3 separate regions of the Homo sapiens genome follow, and regions 1 and 3 are each linked to region 2. Evidence: promoter capture Hi-C in 16 types of primary human blood cells and fetal thymus (Javierre and others, 2016). All regions are on one chromosome and are shown on one strand. Each heading gives the region's core, a stretch centred on a gene start or on the middle of the fragment in contact. The rest is flanking DNA. Distances are from core to core; before and after follow the strand shown.

Region 1 (4,585 bases), core at 4-2,503, 470 kb after region 2:
GCTTGAACTTTTTGTGTCAGTGATTTCACTTGTGCAGTTACAGCCATCACCTGAAATTAGCCCAAATAAAACAAGTGATTAGATTATATCAAATTATGTCTGCAAACTGTGAAGAGCAAAAGCTAAACAATGCCACCTAAAAATTATCTGAAACACTGTCTAAAGTATAGTACTATCTTCTCACTTCTCGGAAAGCATAGGAGAGATGGTTCTTCAAAAAGTTTAAAAAAAAAAAAACTTTCCACTTCTTAAAGAAGAGACCATCTTTTACTGAACCACAGGGAGGAGAAAAGGACTGAGAGAGTAGTGACTGAAGCACTGTAATTTTGTTTGTACTAGTTGAACTTACAATGCATAGAACTACATAACTCCCCGACTTATGACTTAATTTCCACTTTACGAGGGTGTAAAAGAAATATGCATTCGGTAGAAACCGTCCTTTTCTCGTGATGCTGGGCAGCGGCATCAAGCCTAAATTTCGACTTATGAGGTTTTCGAATTACAATGGGTTTATCAGGCCATAACCTCCATCGTTAAGTCGAGAAGCATCTGTATATAAGTGTGTATTACCTGGGCACCCAAAGGGCAAGTCATGTTACCATTCCAAGCACTGGTTTCCTTAGCTATATGAATAAAGGAAAACTATTCATATAATTTCTTTTTGGAGTTTCTTGTATTCCCTTGGGTGCAGAATCAATTACTTAGAATTCTGGCGTGAAAAGGTTTTGATTACATCATTTTACTCTAAGGTTTTTGGAAGCATTCACGTATCTCAATCACCAAAGTTTTGAGGTGAAGTACACAAACTCAAAGCCAATCCGTGACTAATTTATTCCAGAGGCGACACTACTCACTTGCTCCTGGAGATTTTTCAGAAGTGTCACGGCACTTGGCAGGTCGGACTCCAGCACCCCCTACAGAAGGGAGAGGAGGCGTAAAGAAAAGTCATTCTTTCCTCAGGATTATAGGAAAGTGGAACGTCTAGGGTGGGAAACTGCCCTCTCTCCGTCAGACACCCAGACTCGGGGCCTTCACACTCGGGTTCACAGACTCGCCTTAAAGCCAGCCCCTTGGGTTACCGGACAGGAACGGTAACTCTAGGGAGGCCGCCTCCCTGAAGCAACTTTCATCACCACCCTTCCCTGGTACCAACAGTTTGCCTCCAGCCGCTGAAGGCAAAGGACAACTCCACAATAGCTACGCGAGGAAGAAACCACACCAAACTCACCAGCGCCGCCATCTTCGCAAAGCCCACCCCTTCCGGTGTCGTACTTCCTGAGCGCTAAGGGCGACTTGATAGATTTGATAGACAACTGCCGCTTGCAAATCTAAGCCAATACGAATAAGGGCTTTCTCACTTCCGCCCCCAACAGGATAAACGAGAGGAGGAGTCTGATCTGGCCAATGGAATAAAGGAACTGGCTAAATTCGTCAGACTCAGAAAGAGTCGTCAGGACGAAAAAAAGCACTTGGCAAAGAGCGTGTGATTGGTAGACTGAGTAAAATGATTGACGGCAAGCCAATAAGAGACAGTCAAATAATTGATTGACAGTTGGAAGGACCAATAGAAAAAAGGAATTAGCAGAGCGAACTTAGCGCGTATTGGCTCCCGTCTGCCGCAGCACCCAGAGTCTTTTTTCACGGCACTTTTCTTGTAGTGCGTGAACCGGCCGCTAGGTGATGGGCCTTGGCTTGGCTTTGCGGTGTCGACATTGCAGAGCCGCCATTGCTGGCTGCTCATCCAACGGCCACCGCGCCAAATGCCTTACAGACCCGGTGGCCCTGGAATCGATTCTGTAACACTACTCCTTGTGTGACCGTGGACAAGTCACTCGGTCTCTGAGCCTTCTTCATCTGTAAATAAGAGAGCGAGGCTAGAGAAGCCCAGAGCCAGAGTTTAGAAACCGAGTGCGAGGACACCTGCCCTCTTGGTGTGCACTGTGGAGCGCTGAGAAACGGCTCCAATAACGCCCCGACACTCTTCGCTCCTACCAGTTTGGGGACATGAAAAGAATACGTTTTACAAATTGGGGAACGGTTCATATTTACATGACTTACCGCGGTCACACAGGTCTTCAGCAGAACTTGGTTCAAACTCTGGCAGTGCATGTTTCAGTATAACCTGCCTCATCATTACCCAGTGCTTTCAGATGTGTTCTCTCACTCTGGTTTTTCACAAGCTGGTGAAGTAGGTTGGACGGATACTCATTGTTCCCATCCCATGCCTTAGGAAATAAAGCACCGAAAGGGTGAATGATAGTGTATAATTTTTTGTTCACAACTCGTCCAACAGAGCTGGGTCTAGAAATCAGATCTTACCGACTTGAAGCTGTCTTTTGGAATTAAGAATAACACCTGTATCTGGGCAGGTGAGGTAAGGAAATCCTGGTATCTAGATCTTGCTGGATTCAAGAAGGCAGGAGGGTGTTCAGTCCCCACTCCTCTAACATTTAATTTGCTGCTTCAGGCCCACTGTGGAAGCTCAGGATGCTGTTGCAGCATACTTAGTCAATTATCCAGTAGCTTTTGTAATGTTTTATCAAGATTTGTATTATGAAAAGTTTCTATTTCTACATAAATTTTCGGACCTGTCTAATTAGATCAGCAATAAACTTTTCCTTTTCGGGGAATTTGAAATTTAGTTTGTTCATATGCTTTATGATAGCAATGAGAAAACAAATTGCACTGCCATATTTTGGGTTTTTTTGAGACCGAGTCTCGCTCTGTTGCCCAAGCTGGAGTGCAGTGGCGCGATCTCGGCTCACTGCAACCTCCGCCTCCCGGGTTCAAGCGATTCTCCTGTCTCGCCCTCCCGAGTAGCTGGGACTACAGGCACTTGCCACCACGCCCGGCTGATTTTTTTTTTTTTTTTTTTTTTTTTAGTAGAGACAGGGTTTCACCATGTTAGCTAGGATGGTCTCGATCTCCTGACCTCATGATCCACCCGCCTCAGCCTCCCAAAGTGCTGGGATTACAGGCGTAAGCCACCGCGCCCGGCCTTTTTTTTTTTTTTTTTTTTTGAGCGGAGTCTCATACTGTTGCCCAAGCTGGAGTGCAGTGCCGCGATCTTGGCTCACTGCAACCTCTGCCTCCCTGTTCAAGCGATTCTCCTGCCTCAGCCTCCTGAGTAGCTGGGATTACAGGCACCCGCCACCATATCCAGCTCATTTTTTGTATTTTTAGTAGAGACGGGGTTTCTACTAAACCATGGTTGGCCAGGCTGGTCTCAAACTCCTGACCTCACTATCCACCTGCCTCGGCCTCCCAAAGTGCTGGGATTACAGGCATGAGCCACTGCTCCCGGCCTTGATTATTAAAATAATTGTCCACCAGGAACGGTGACTTGAACCTGTAGTCCCAGCTACTCTGGAGGCTGAGGCAGGAGAATCACTTGAGCCCATGTCAAGGCAGCAGTGAGCCATGATCGTGCCACTGCACTCCAGCCTGGGTGACGGAGCAAGACCCTATCTCTAAAAAAAAGGTGAAAGAGGGAGACCCCATCTCTAAAAAAATAAAATACTTGTCAACTATAGGGGCAGAAAAGTGTGATACCTTTCCTCACCCATCATAAGGGTCATAGAAGACACTCCTATAACAAAAGAAGTTAACAAGAAAAAAGTTTGATGAATTTATTGAAAGTTTTACATGACACGGGAGCCTTCAGAAATGAAGATTCCATTTTTATGGTTAGGTTTGATGAAGAATGGACAGCGTGTAGAAATGTGATAGGACAAAAAGAGTATGATCTGACAGAACTAGACTGAGGGGGGAATCCCAGCAAGGCCTGTCTGTTCAGATTTTTCTTAGCCTCTCTAGATAGCAATCCTTTGGGGTATAGGGAATGCGAAAGGAAAATAACTTGGGACCCCAGTTCACTATGCCAAAAGAAAAAAATTAAGCTCAACGGAGTCATGCAAGCAACTGCCTTTGCTATTGTTCCTAAGCGGATAGCTACAGATAAAATGTTAAATATCTCTACAAGTATTTACTGTGTGTTCACCTTATCTTGTGTGCCGATTTACTGAGCCTGAGACAAATACCAATTGACTATTCCCCTACCTGCTCCTTTTCTCTTGCAACATGTGGATTAATGTACCCTCCCTCTTTCTCCTCCAGCCTACTTTTCCCCTTTTAATAGTGAAGCCCTGAAAGTCATCTTTGGAGAAAGGCACAAGCCTCACTCCCAGACACGTCCTTAATCTTGGCAAAATAAACTGCTAAATTGATTGAGACCTGTTTCAGATACTTTCTGGTTTACAGGGAGGACCCCTCCAAAATGAGGATTTATGACTGACCATCAAATGAGGAAGTCAGAGAATATTTTTTACGGCTAGCTCCTAGCAGAAAGGTGAGAGAAATTTAGAGTAAAATTTTTAGGTTTTATGGCTGGTTTGGGGGACAGAGCTTCCAGTTTTTTTGTTGTTTTGTTTTTGTTTTTGTTTTTTTTGAGACGGAGTCTCGCTCTGTCACCCAGGGTGGAGTGCAGTGGCGCGATCTCAGCTCACTGTAACCTCTGCCTCCTGGGTTCAAGCGATTCTTCTGCCTCAGCCTCCCAAGTAGCTGGGATTACAGGCATATGCCACCA
Region 2 (4,770 bases), core at 1,672-4,171:
ACACACACACACACACCCTTTTGAAGCATCAACAGTAATTCTGAGTTCTTAGGGACAATGCAGATTAAATCCACAATAAGAAAGACAACTATGGCCAGGTGTGGTGGCTCACGCCTGTAATCCCAGAACTTTGGGAGGCTGAGGCGGATGGATCACCTGAGGTCAGGAGTTAGAGACCAACCTGACCAACATGGAGAAACCCCGTTTCTACTAAAAATGCAAAATTAGCCGGGCATGGTGGCAGGCGCCTGTAATCCCAAATACTCGGGAGGCTGAGGCAGGAGAATCACTTAAACCCGGGAGGCAGAGGTTGCAGTGAGCCAAGATCGCGCCATTGCACTCCAGCCTGGGCAAGAAGAGCAAAACTCCATCTCAAAAAAAAAAAAAGAGTACTATTGATCCAGAGGTGACCAGACTAGCCTCACTGGAGATAATAGGTGACATTATTATGCAAAGTGGTTTCAGTTCCCTTGTCTTGTTTTTGGAATAGTATAAGAGGCCTACAATACGAATAAATAAGGCCCATCACAAGCCTCACCAAAGGACAAAACTAATCCACTTCTGAAGAAGGCTCTTTGTTGGGCCAGATCAAATCCTTGGACAGAACTGTACTCTTAATCTCTGTAGTGAAAGTGGGGGGTAGTTTAAGAATTTATTAACCTTCTACCTTGAGCAATCCCTCAGAAGTAAGAGGTGTCAGGCCTCTGAGCCGAAGCTCAGCCATTGTAACCCCTGTGACCTGCACATATATGTCCAGATGGCCTGCAGGAGCCAAGAAGTCTGGGGCAGCTGAAAAACCACACAAGAAGTAAAACAGCCAGTTCCTGCCTTAACTGATTAACCAACATTACAACATTCCACCATTGTGACCTGTCCCTGTCCTACCTTAACTGATCAATCGACCTTGTGACAGTCTTCTTCTGGACAATGGGTCTTATCATCTCCCCACCATGTACCTTGTGACCCCCTCCTCTGCTAACAATAGATAACCACTTTTTACTGTAATTTTCCATTACCTACCCAACTCCTATAAAGCAACCCCTTCCCCATCTCCCTTCACTGACTCTGTTTTCAGACTCAGCCCACTTGCACTCAAGTGAATAAACAGCCTTGTTGCTCACACAAAGCCTGTTGGTGGTCTCTTCACACAGATGTGCTTGACAAAAGGGAAGGGTGGATTTGTCCTTCTGGTTACATATGTTCTGCTCACTCATTTTGAATTTAATTAAACAAGGATTGCCCTTACCTTTTCATACTTTGTAAGAAACCATAAATACTTATGCACCATGATTTTTTTAAAGAAACACTTTTTATTTTGAAGTAATTATAGTCTCATAGGAAGTTGCAAAAGTAGTACATAGAGTCCCTGAGTACTCTTCCCCCAGTGGTGACAACTGTAGTATAATATCAATTCTGGGAAATTGACATTGGTACAATACCAAATATACTATGCCTTTTTCTCTAAGGCATGATGTTGCAGTAGCATCCTTGTACATGTAGCTAGGAGAACTTGTACTAAGCCCAGATAAATAGTTGAAGTACAAGGGCAAGGAGTGTGTCTTTGATATTTTAATAGAAATCACCTATTGCCCTCTAGAAAAGCTGTACCCTTTTCCAGTGGCAGAGAACCTTCCTGAAAGGCAGTCCTGTGTAATGGTGTCCATTTCATCACACCCTTAAAACACTCAGCTTTAACAAACATGCAGATTTTTGCTGATGTGGGAGAAAATATTAATTATTAATGATATTAAGGTGATTATCTTTTCGTATGTTTATAGATATTTGTATTTCTTTTTAAATGAACTGCTCATGACCTTTGTCTACTTTTATTTGGGTTTACTTCTTTCTCATTTATTCCTATAAACTCTTTATAAAAGGAAATTAACCATTTGATTGTCATATGTTGTGAATATTTTTACCATTTTGACTTTTGAATTTATGTCTTTTTAATGAATTGTAGAAGTTTAAAATCTTTATGGAATAAATTTATTTAGTTTTTTGTTTATGGCTTCTGAGTTTTGTGTCATGATTAGAAAGGCCTTTCTTACTCCAAAAGTATAAGATATTCAATTATAAGATTTCCTGTAGTTATTCAATGTGTGTGTATGTATGTTTAAATCTTTTGGCCATCTGATATTTGTGCTTGTGTGGGAAGTGAGATAGAAATCCGGGTTAGTTTTTTTCCCAAATGGTTAACCAGTTGTCTCAGCACTGTCTGAGTAACTCTTCCATGCCTTGGTTTCTTTATCATTACCATATGTATTTGAGCCTATTTCTGGACTCTAGTTCATTTTATTGATTTGTCTGTCTGTTCCCAAGTCAGGATTTTAATAGATATTGCAAAGAGGAAAAAGAAAGTGCTAAAATTGCCATAAAATAACTTCAAATAGAAGAGTATGGCAGTTCAGAGGTGGGAGAGAGTATTTTTAGTTGGGGTCTGAAAAAGCTTCATGAAAGAGGGACATTTAAGGTGAAGCTTGAATGACGAGCACTACGTTGGGCAAAGGGAATAAAGAACAAAGTCATGGAGGTGGTAAATATTTGTGCACATTTGCATCGTGTCTCTGCGAAGGAACTCATGCTCCACCACTGGTGTTTTTATGCATGCGTGTCTTGAGCACAGTTAAGAGGATAAAGAAATTTTCATGTTACTCTTTTGAGGCATTTTGAGGACACATTTATTAATCATAATGGCTACACGTTGAATACCTACTGTTATCCCATAGACATAGGGGTATCTATGTCATTTTTAATTTTCACCACAATGAGCAAAGTTGATATTCCCATTTTAGAAATGAGGAAAATGCCTCAGGCAGTTTAAATAACACCTAAAAGTGGCTGGATTGAGATTAAAATGGATGACCAGCAATTTAAAAAATCAGAATAGAAAATACCACAATTCATCACCTATGGTTAGGGTGTTTGTAGCAGAAGCTGTTCCTGCTCCACCTACGTCACCTGGGATCCCTCTGCTATCTCTGTGTAGACCAGTTGAATCCCAGTGTGCATTCTTTCCCAAAAGCCAGCATACTGTTGGAAGGTACAAGAGAGCCAGAAGTGCCTGGGAATTTATGTCCCTTCCCTCCCCTCATGCCTTTAACCAATGACTGATGGGGGTGGGGATAGACATACTCTAGCTCTTTTGCCCTCTCACTGGATGACTGAGGTGTGACCTATGATGTTCCCCAAGCCCTCTGAGGGAATGTATCAAAATTGCCTTCCATGGGACTTGGCTTGATGTTGTACCCTTACTTGGCCCCTTTCTACTCCTACTTTCTCCCATATGTCTTTTCTCTGGGAATAGTTCCTAATAAATCACTTTCATGTTCATCTTCCTCTAGGGCAGCACTGCTTTAAGAAGCTTCTGTTGTAGTGATGTAGGAGAGAGAGAGAGAGAGAGAGAGAGAGAGTGTGTGTGTGTGTGTGTGTGTGTGTGTGCGCATGCATTCCGTTATCATTTAACATGTATTTCTTAGTGTGGAGCCAGTTTGAAAGCTCTATACTGGCTGTTCTATACTACATTAAACTGCCTGTTTGGGTATAGTTCACTGAGCTGGAAATTCTTCTTGATGCCCCCAAATAAGCACTGCAGATCAGATTCCAAATCTTATTGCTTATTTGAGTACAGTGACTTAAAATACGTTAATAAAAATCTAGGCTGGACACGGTGGCTTACATCTGTAATCCCAGGACTTTGGGAGGCCAAGGTGGGTGGGTCACTTGAGGTCAGGAGTTTGAGACTAGGTTGACCAATGTGGCAAAACCCCATCTCTACCAAAAAAAAAAAAATACAAAAAAATTAGCTGGGTCTGCTGGCATGTGCTTGTAGTCCCAGCTACTCAGGAGGCTGAGGCAGGAGAATAGCTTGGACCTGGGAGGCAGAGGTTGCCGTGAGCTGAGATCGGGCCGCTACAGTCCAGCCTGGGTGACAGAGCAAGGCTCCATCTCAAAAACAACAACAACAACAACAAACAACAACAACAACAACAAGTGTTAGTTATGGCTGTAAAGAACACAGTCAATTTTGATACTATTGGCTAGGCTGGTCTTTGACTTCTTGGGCAGCCAACCCTACTAAACAGTTTCCAAAGTTCAGGCTTCCCTTTGCCAAAGTTGATAAGTGTGGTGTAAAGGTCATGTTAGTTGAGTGTTAATTTTTTTGCAGACTAGCAGAAACGAGAAGACCAGGTTTGCCTTGTAGCAGAGCCAGAAGGTGTGCCTGACCACAGGGCAGGATAGTCATGCCAGGACTCTGACCCTCAGCTTGGCTTAGATGGAGAGAGGCAAGGTGTACAGAATTGCTTTGCATTTACCCCCAAAGACAAGGTAGTTAAAAGAAGGGAAGATAACACACCACATACTCACTACCAACCAATGAGACCTAGCAAAGGCGTCACACAAATCCTTGTCAGATTTGTGGGGATCCTGGGGCAGTCCTGACTGCCAGAATCCACCGGAGGCCATGAGTGGAGGGCTGAGGACATCATTTCTAAGTACAGTGGAAATGAAATCTGGAAGGTAGTGCAAAGGAAAGGGCAGGAGACTCATCTTCTCAGGGAAGTCGTGGGATCCCTGCCATCACATATGTCCGCTGATGACCCTTATTTGTCAGTGCATGACGTAACATTGTCTACACGTTTAGAAAAGAGCAAAAATATGTTCAAAAATCTGATGGAATGATTAAGACACAAGGAGGGAGATCTAAACTCATCAAATTTAGGATGAAGATGGCTGTGAGTTAAGAATTTATAGGGAGTTGGGCACAGTGGT
Region 3 (4,925 bases), core at 1,965-4,464, 500 kb after region 2:
AGTAGGGAATGAGAGGGGGTGCACAAGTACAAAAGATTTTGAAGCCAGCAGGAAGACAAAAGAATGACAAGAAGGAGCAGCTGTTTGTAAAGGGAAATCTGAGACAGGCAGAAAGCTCAGCTCCCTAATCCTAGGCTCGTGTGGAGCCAGGGCAGGGTCCCCCCAAGGTCAGGGATTCTGGGGGCAGGCGGATGGGAGAGTCAGCCTCCACTCCTGGGTGGCTCCCCTCTGCCCTGTGCACAAACAACGAGTGCCTCATTCCTCCCCTGCACCAAGTGCCCTGCCTCTTCCTGCCCCGTTTCTTCCTTCCCTTTGGGTACCGGAGCTTTTTTCTGATTCCCCTCTCTCCATGCTGACATCGCTTCTAATTCGCCCTGGTGTCTCCCTCCCTCACAATTACTGGGAGTAATTTTAGCAACTTTTCCTCTGAACTACCGCTGGCGTGTTCACAGCAAATGGCCCCTGTTTTGGCTTGACACTTGATCAGGGTGGTGACAGAGTGCAGACAAAGCCGGCACAATGCGGGGAGGGGAGGACGGGGGACAGATCACCTTCCTTTCACTTCAGGCCTTATTTGGTCTACCTTGCCGAAGCGGCCCTCCTTCCAGCCTCTCTTTATTTATAGCATTTTGCTTTGCTCTCCTTTATCTTGCTATCACTTTGTAGCACACTCTGCACAATCCCCACCCACCCCAGCATGGTGGGGCCCCTGGCCCCTCACTCTCCCCACAAGGAATGTGCATGTGTGCAAAGGGTAGGCCTGGATGCCATTTCTACAAACAGTTGACTAAAGCAGTCCAGAGCAGGGATCTTTCTTTGGGTCATTGTTATGTCCTTATTGACCAGAATAATGCCTGGCACATAGTAGGCACTCAATAAATACTTGTTGAATGGAGGAATCTGCAAAGCTGCTCAGTCTTCAGACAGCAGCAAGCAGCAGGAAGAGAATCATGATGTAACCAAGAGCAGGTGCTGGAGGAGCTAGGGAGTGAGTGGGGATCTTTAAGGACAGCAGGCCCTCTGATCTGTCTGAGCTGTGAGGCAAAGCCTAGTTAGGGAGGTGAGTTCTATCTGCAATGAGAGGGGGCATGGGTGGAGAACAGTAACACCCAAACACCAACAGACCAGAGCCTCCCAAACCCGAAAGGAGAGAAACAAAGTGTGATTGATTTCCCAAATGCAGAAAAGACTACCCAAGTCCCCAGCCAAGGAAGGACGCTGGCCTGTGGTGAAGACACTGGCTTTGAAATGGCTCAACTACGTCCCAAGCACCCTTTGTGCATCTTAATTGCCCTGGGAAATCAGGGAGGGGTGGCAGTTTGGAGCTTGGAAAGCTGGAAGGTGGGGACGAAAGGAGTTTTTGCCCCTCATCGCCAATCCTTGAGGTTCCTACAGGGAACCTCAGACAACAGCTGTCTTAGGGGTTTCCTTCCAGCTCCAAGCAGCTGTATTATCTATAGCTTTGAGAGGGTCTGTCTCTGTCAATGGGGCTGATTCCTCAGCACCTGGCAGGGCCTGGGGGGGACTGCCAGAGTCTGTTCTGCCGGGCATGTTAGTAGCACAGACTACTGGGATAACCTCAGCAACTGTATACCTTAGCACTGCAGAGCTGCGGTGTTGTCAGACACAGCCCTTGCAGTTCGTGGTCTACCCCCACTTGCCTGCACCCCCCTTATAGCTGCTCAATGTCCTCAGACTGTACCTTAGTGCCTTGGTTACCAAGCAACCCCCACAGAGGCCTCCTCCTGGATTTTCCCTTCCCTGCTATGCCCACCCCACCTTCAAAATGTACCTGCTGCACCCATCCCCCAGGCCTGCCTCACTCCTTCCAAGCTGACAGCTAATCAGATGGACTAATCCGCATGCGCGGAAGAGCTGTGCTTGGGAAGAAGGGGGAGATTTCACACCAAATCGTGCAGTGGTTGCCTAGACACGGAGCCAGTCAAGCTTGCATGCCCCGTTGCTAGAAGAGCATGGCATCGGTTGTGTTCTGTGCTCGTAGGCTGGGCCCCAGCTCCCTTTCCTCCCCTCCTTTGTGGCTGTTCCTCAGGCCTGCAGAGGGGAAGATTTTTCCTGTCCTGTTACTCTGCCTCACTTGCCAGAACACTAGTCGCCTCCAGCTCTGGATAAAGCTGAGGCTGGGTGGGCCAGACAACAGCTGTCTTAGGGGTCTCCTTCCAGCTCCAAGTAGTTGTATTATCTATAGCTCTGAGAGGGTCTGTCTCTGGGCTCAGGCCTTTAGTACCTGTGGGGCAGAGCCAGGAACGTGAGTCAGGCAAACCGCTCCAAACTAGGACCAATGCAGCTGGGTCCTGCTCTCTGCGCATAGGGGGTCCCCACATCTTTGGAATCCCAGCCCACCTTTCCAGGCTACCCTCCACAGGCCGGGCTCCACTCCCATCTGCTGAGGTTTCCCACCTTGAATCCTGCTGCCCCGATTAGCTGTATAACCTTAAAGAATGCACTGTCCCTCTCCATTAAATGAAGTGCTTGGATGGATTGCTAAAGGCCTGTCTGGCTCGGAGGCTTGGTGACCTCAACACATTGCCTGCTGGTCCAAGGAAATCAGTGCCTGAGCCAGAGTCCCCATCTCTAAGCTCCATGGTTATTGTTCTTGCCACCTGGCTAGGAAATGTCCTTCCAGCTGCCCCAGTCTAGCTGCCTCACCCTGGGGCCATGCCCCCAACTCTGTCCTACCCTTCTCTGCTGCTGACACTCAGCCCCTTCCCAGCTTCCAGTTGGATACAGGACCTGGGCCAGGAGAGCAGGGAGGACACTGTGGAAATGCGGCCAGGCCATCAGGGGCCTCGCAGCAGGGGACTGGAGGGGGAGCAGTGTCCAGGGCCAGAAGTGCCCTGCGGGAGAGCCAGGACATTGGCTGCCTGTGGTCTTGGTGGTCGTGGTCAGTTCCCTCTCCTGCCAGCTGTGGAATGTGAGGCCTGGCCTGGGAGATATTTTTGCTGCACTTTGAGCCACCCCGCCCCCTGGAACTCAGACCCTGCACAGTCCATGCCATAACAATGACGACCACTTCCAATTGTTTCCTAGCTGGAGAGGCGGGGAGGGGAGCACTGTTTGGGAAGGGGGGGAGCCTGGGGGAAATGCTTCTAGTGACAACAGCCCTTTCTAAATCCGGCTAGGGACTGGGTGCCGTTGGGGGTGGGGGTGCCCTGCTGCCCCATATATACAGCCCCTGAGACCAGGTCTGGCTCCACAGCTCTGTCCTGCTCTGTGTCTTTCCCTGCTGCTCTCAGGTAGGAGCGGGAGCTGGAGGCTTTACTCTGGGATAAGGGGGCTCCAGGCTTAGGAAGGGATTCCTCTTGGAATAGCAAGCTTCATGCAGGACTTCATGCAGAGTACCAGGTCCAGTCACTGGGCACACATGTGCAGGTCTAAACATGGGCGTATGTGCCACAGGAGTTCCTAGGGGAAGATATCTGCATCTGAGCATATGGGACCAATATGCATTACAGGGTGTGTGTGTGTGTGTGTGTGTGTGTGTGTGTGTGGACAAGCCTGCATAGTCTGAATGTGAGAAAGGGTATGTACCTCACTGACTGATACAGAAATATCAAGTGGGAGATGTGGGTGTATGATCACGTCTGTGAACGAGGAGGTTCCTTTGCAGGGAGGGAGAAAGAATGGTGGAGAAGGATTCTAGGAAGTGTGTATGCCTTCATGTGATTCTGTGAGGCCTGGAATGTGTAGCTACCCCTGTCCATGCATGCAGAGGTTCTTGTCTATGCCTCCACGAGTCATGACTGTTATAGTATCTGTACCCTCTGCAGAAGGAACTCACAGGCACGGGGGTGTAGGATGTTCCAGGTCTTTGTGTACTGAAGAACACGCAGTGATGTGATCTACTTACGTGGCACACATCCTGAAATGTGCACATTTGCTGTTGAGGCATATATGGCACCCTGGGGTTGGGGTGCGGATTGAGGTATGGGAAGGAAGCCTGTCTTCATGTGAGAGGCATGCCCAAGCAGCAGGCATGAGTGTTCATCAGAGGGCTTGTGGAGGGTGTTTGGCTATGTGATGGGTGTGTCTGTGAGAGGAAGCCCACAGTGTCTTCTCTCTGAGAATGTCCACAAAGTCTGACAACAAAATGGGGACAGGATGGAAAAGAAGTCTCTTTAGAGTCATCAGACTTGCATTCAAGTCTTGGCTCTCCCACTTGTTGTCATGGGCTCTTGGCCAAGCAAGCCATTTAACCTCGATTTCCTCATCTGTCAAATGGGGTGAAGACTGAGTAGGAGAAAGTGCATTGAAGTGCTTTTAGACTGGAAAGTGCCGAACAAATGTGACCATTAGTTGTCTCTCAGATGGCTCAAAGAAAGGTACCACTAGATGGGTACAGGCAGGGGTGGGACCATCTCGCAGGAGTGAAGAGGATTAGGGTTCAGGTTGAGTTGACACCAGGAAGCTGTTAGAACTAGTTCTTGAGGAAAAAGGGAATAGGGTTTGAAAAACAAGAAGGATGGGACCAGAGAAGCTGACCACCCTTTCCACCTTGTTTTGGAAGAGGGTGGATGCTGAAGAACAGAGCCAGGGAGAAGCAGGAAGGTGGGACTGGTCAGGTTGGGCACAGCCTGCCCTGACACAGCCTCTTCCCTCTCTCCAGGTCCCCTGCAGGCCTTGGCCCCTTTCCTCATCTGTAGACACACTTGAGTAGCCCAGGTAAGAAAAGCTGAAGCTAGAGTGTTGAAAATCTAGTAAGACTGGGCATTAGAGCCCCAAAGCCAGCCTATGGAACTCTAGTTTCTGCCATGTGCTGGAGAGAATATCTTGGCTATCAAGAGCTACTTACCTGTGACCAGGGGGTCCAGGGATAGATGAGGGTCAGAGATGGAAATAGTTAGATTTCTGCTCCTACAGGGAGCTCAGAATGCTCTTCCTTCCCCTAGGAGAGCCCCAGCTTGAAC

What was found. The method cuts DNA at HindIII sites, captures the fragments that hold promoters and counts their contacts. A CHiCAGO score of 5 or more calls a contact.
Region 1: the fragment with the promoter of NGDN here is called in contact with a fragment that was not itself captured in region 2 in 1 of 17 cell types (total CD8 T cells); the score reaches 7.1 in total CD8 T cells.
Region 3: the fragment with the promoter of MYH7 here is called in contact with a fragment that was not itself captured in region 2 in 1 of 17 cell types (M0 macrophages); the score reaches 5.0 in M0 macrophages.

Annotation. Positions count from the first base shown.
Region 1 is chr14:23,466,371-23,470,955 of GRCh38, reverse strand. It overlaps NGDN (neuroguidin), which reads right to left and starts at 1,253. Exons shown (of 11, transcript NM_001042635.2): 1 at 1,229-1,253; 2 at 855-914; 3 at 1-50. The coding sequence starts at 1,240. RefSeq lists an enhancer at 550-1,490 and a silencer at 1,577-1,626. The HindIII fragment of the contact is 20,849 bases long and covers 1-4,585 here.
Region 2 is chr14:23,935,969-23,940,738 of GRCh38, reverse strand. It overlaps DHRS4-AS1 (DHRS4 antisense RNA 1), which reads left to right. Exons shown (of 2, transcript NR_023922.2): 2 at 1-2,008. Among named protein-coding and RNA genes, the nearest start is that of DHRS4, 15 kb to the left of the region's middle. The HindIII fragment of the contact is 885 bases long and covers 2,479-3,363 here.
Region 3 is chr14:23,433,949-23,438,873 of GRCh38, reverse strand. MYH7 (myosin heavy chain 7) reads left to right here and starts at 3,214. Exons shown (of 40, transcript NM_000257.4): 1 at 3,214-3,254; 2 at 4,625-4,680. RefSeq lists enhancers at 239-739, 1-1,496, 2,517-3,354. The HindIII fragment of the contact is 1,386 bases long and covers 1,950-3,335 here.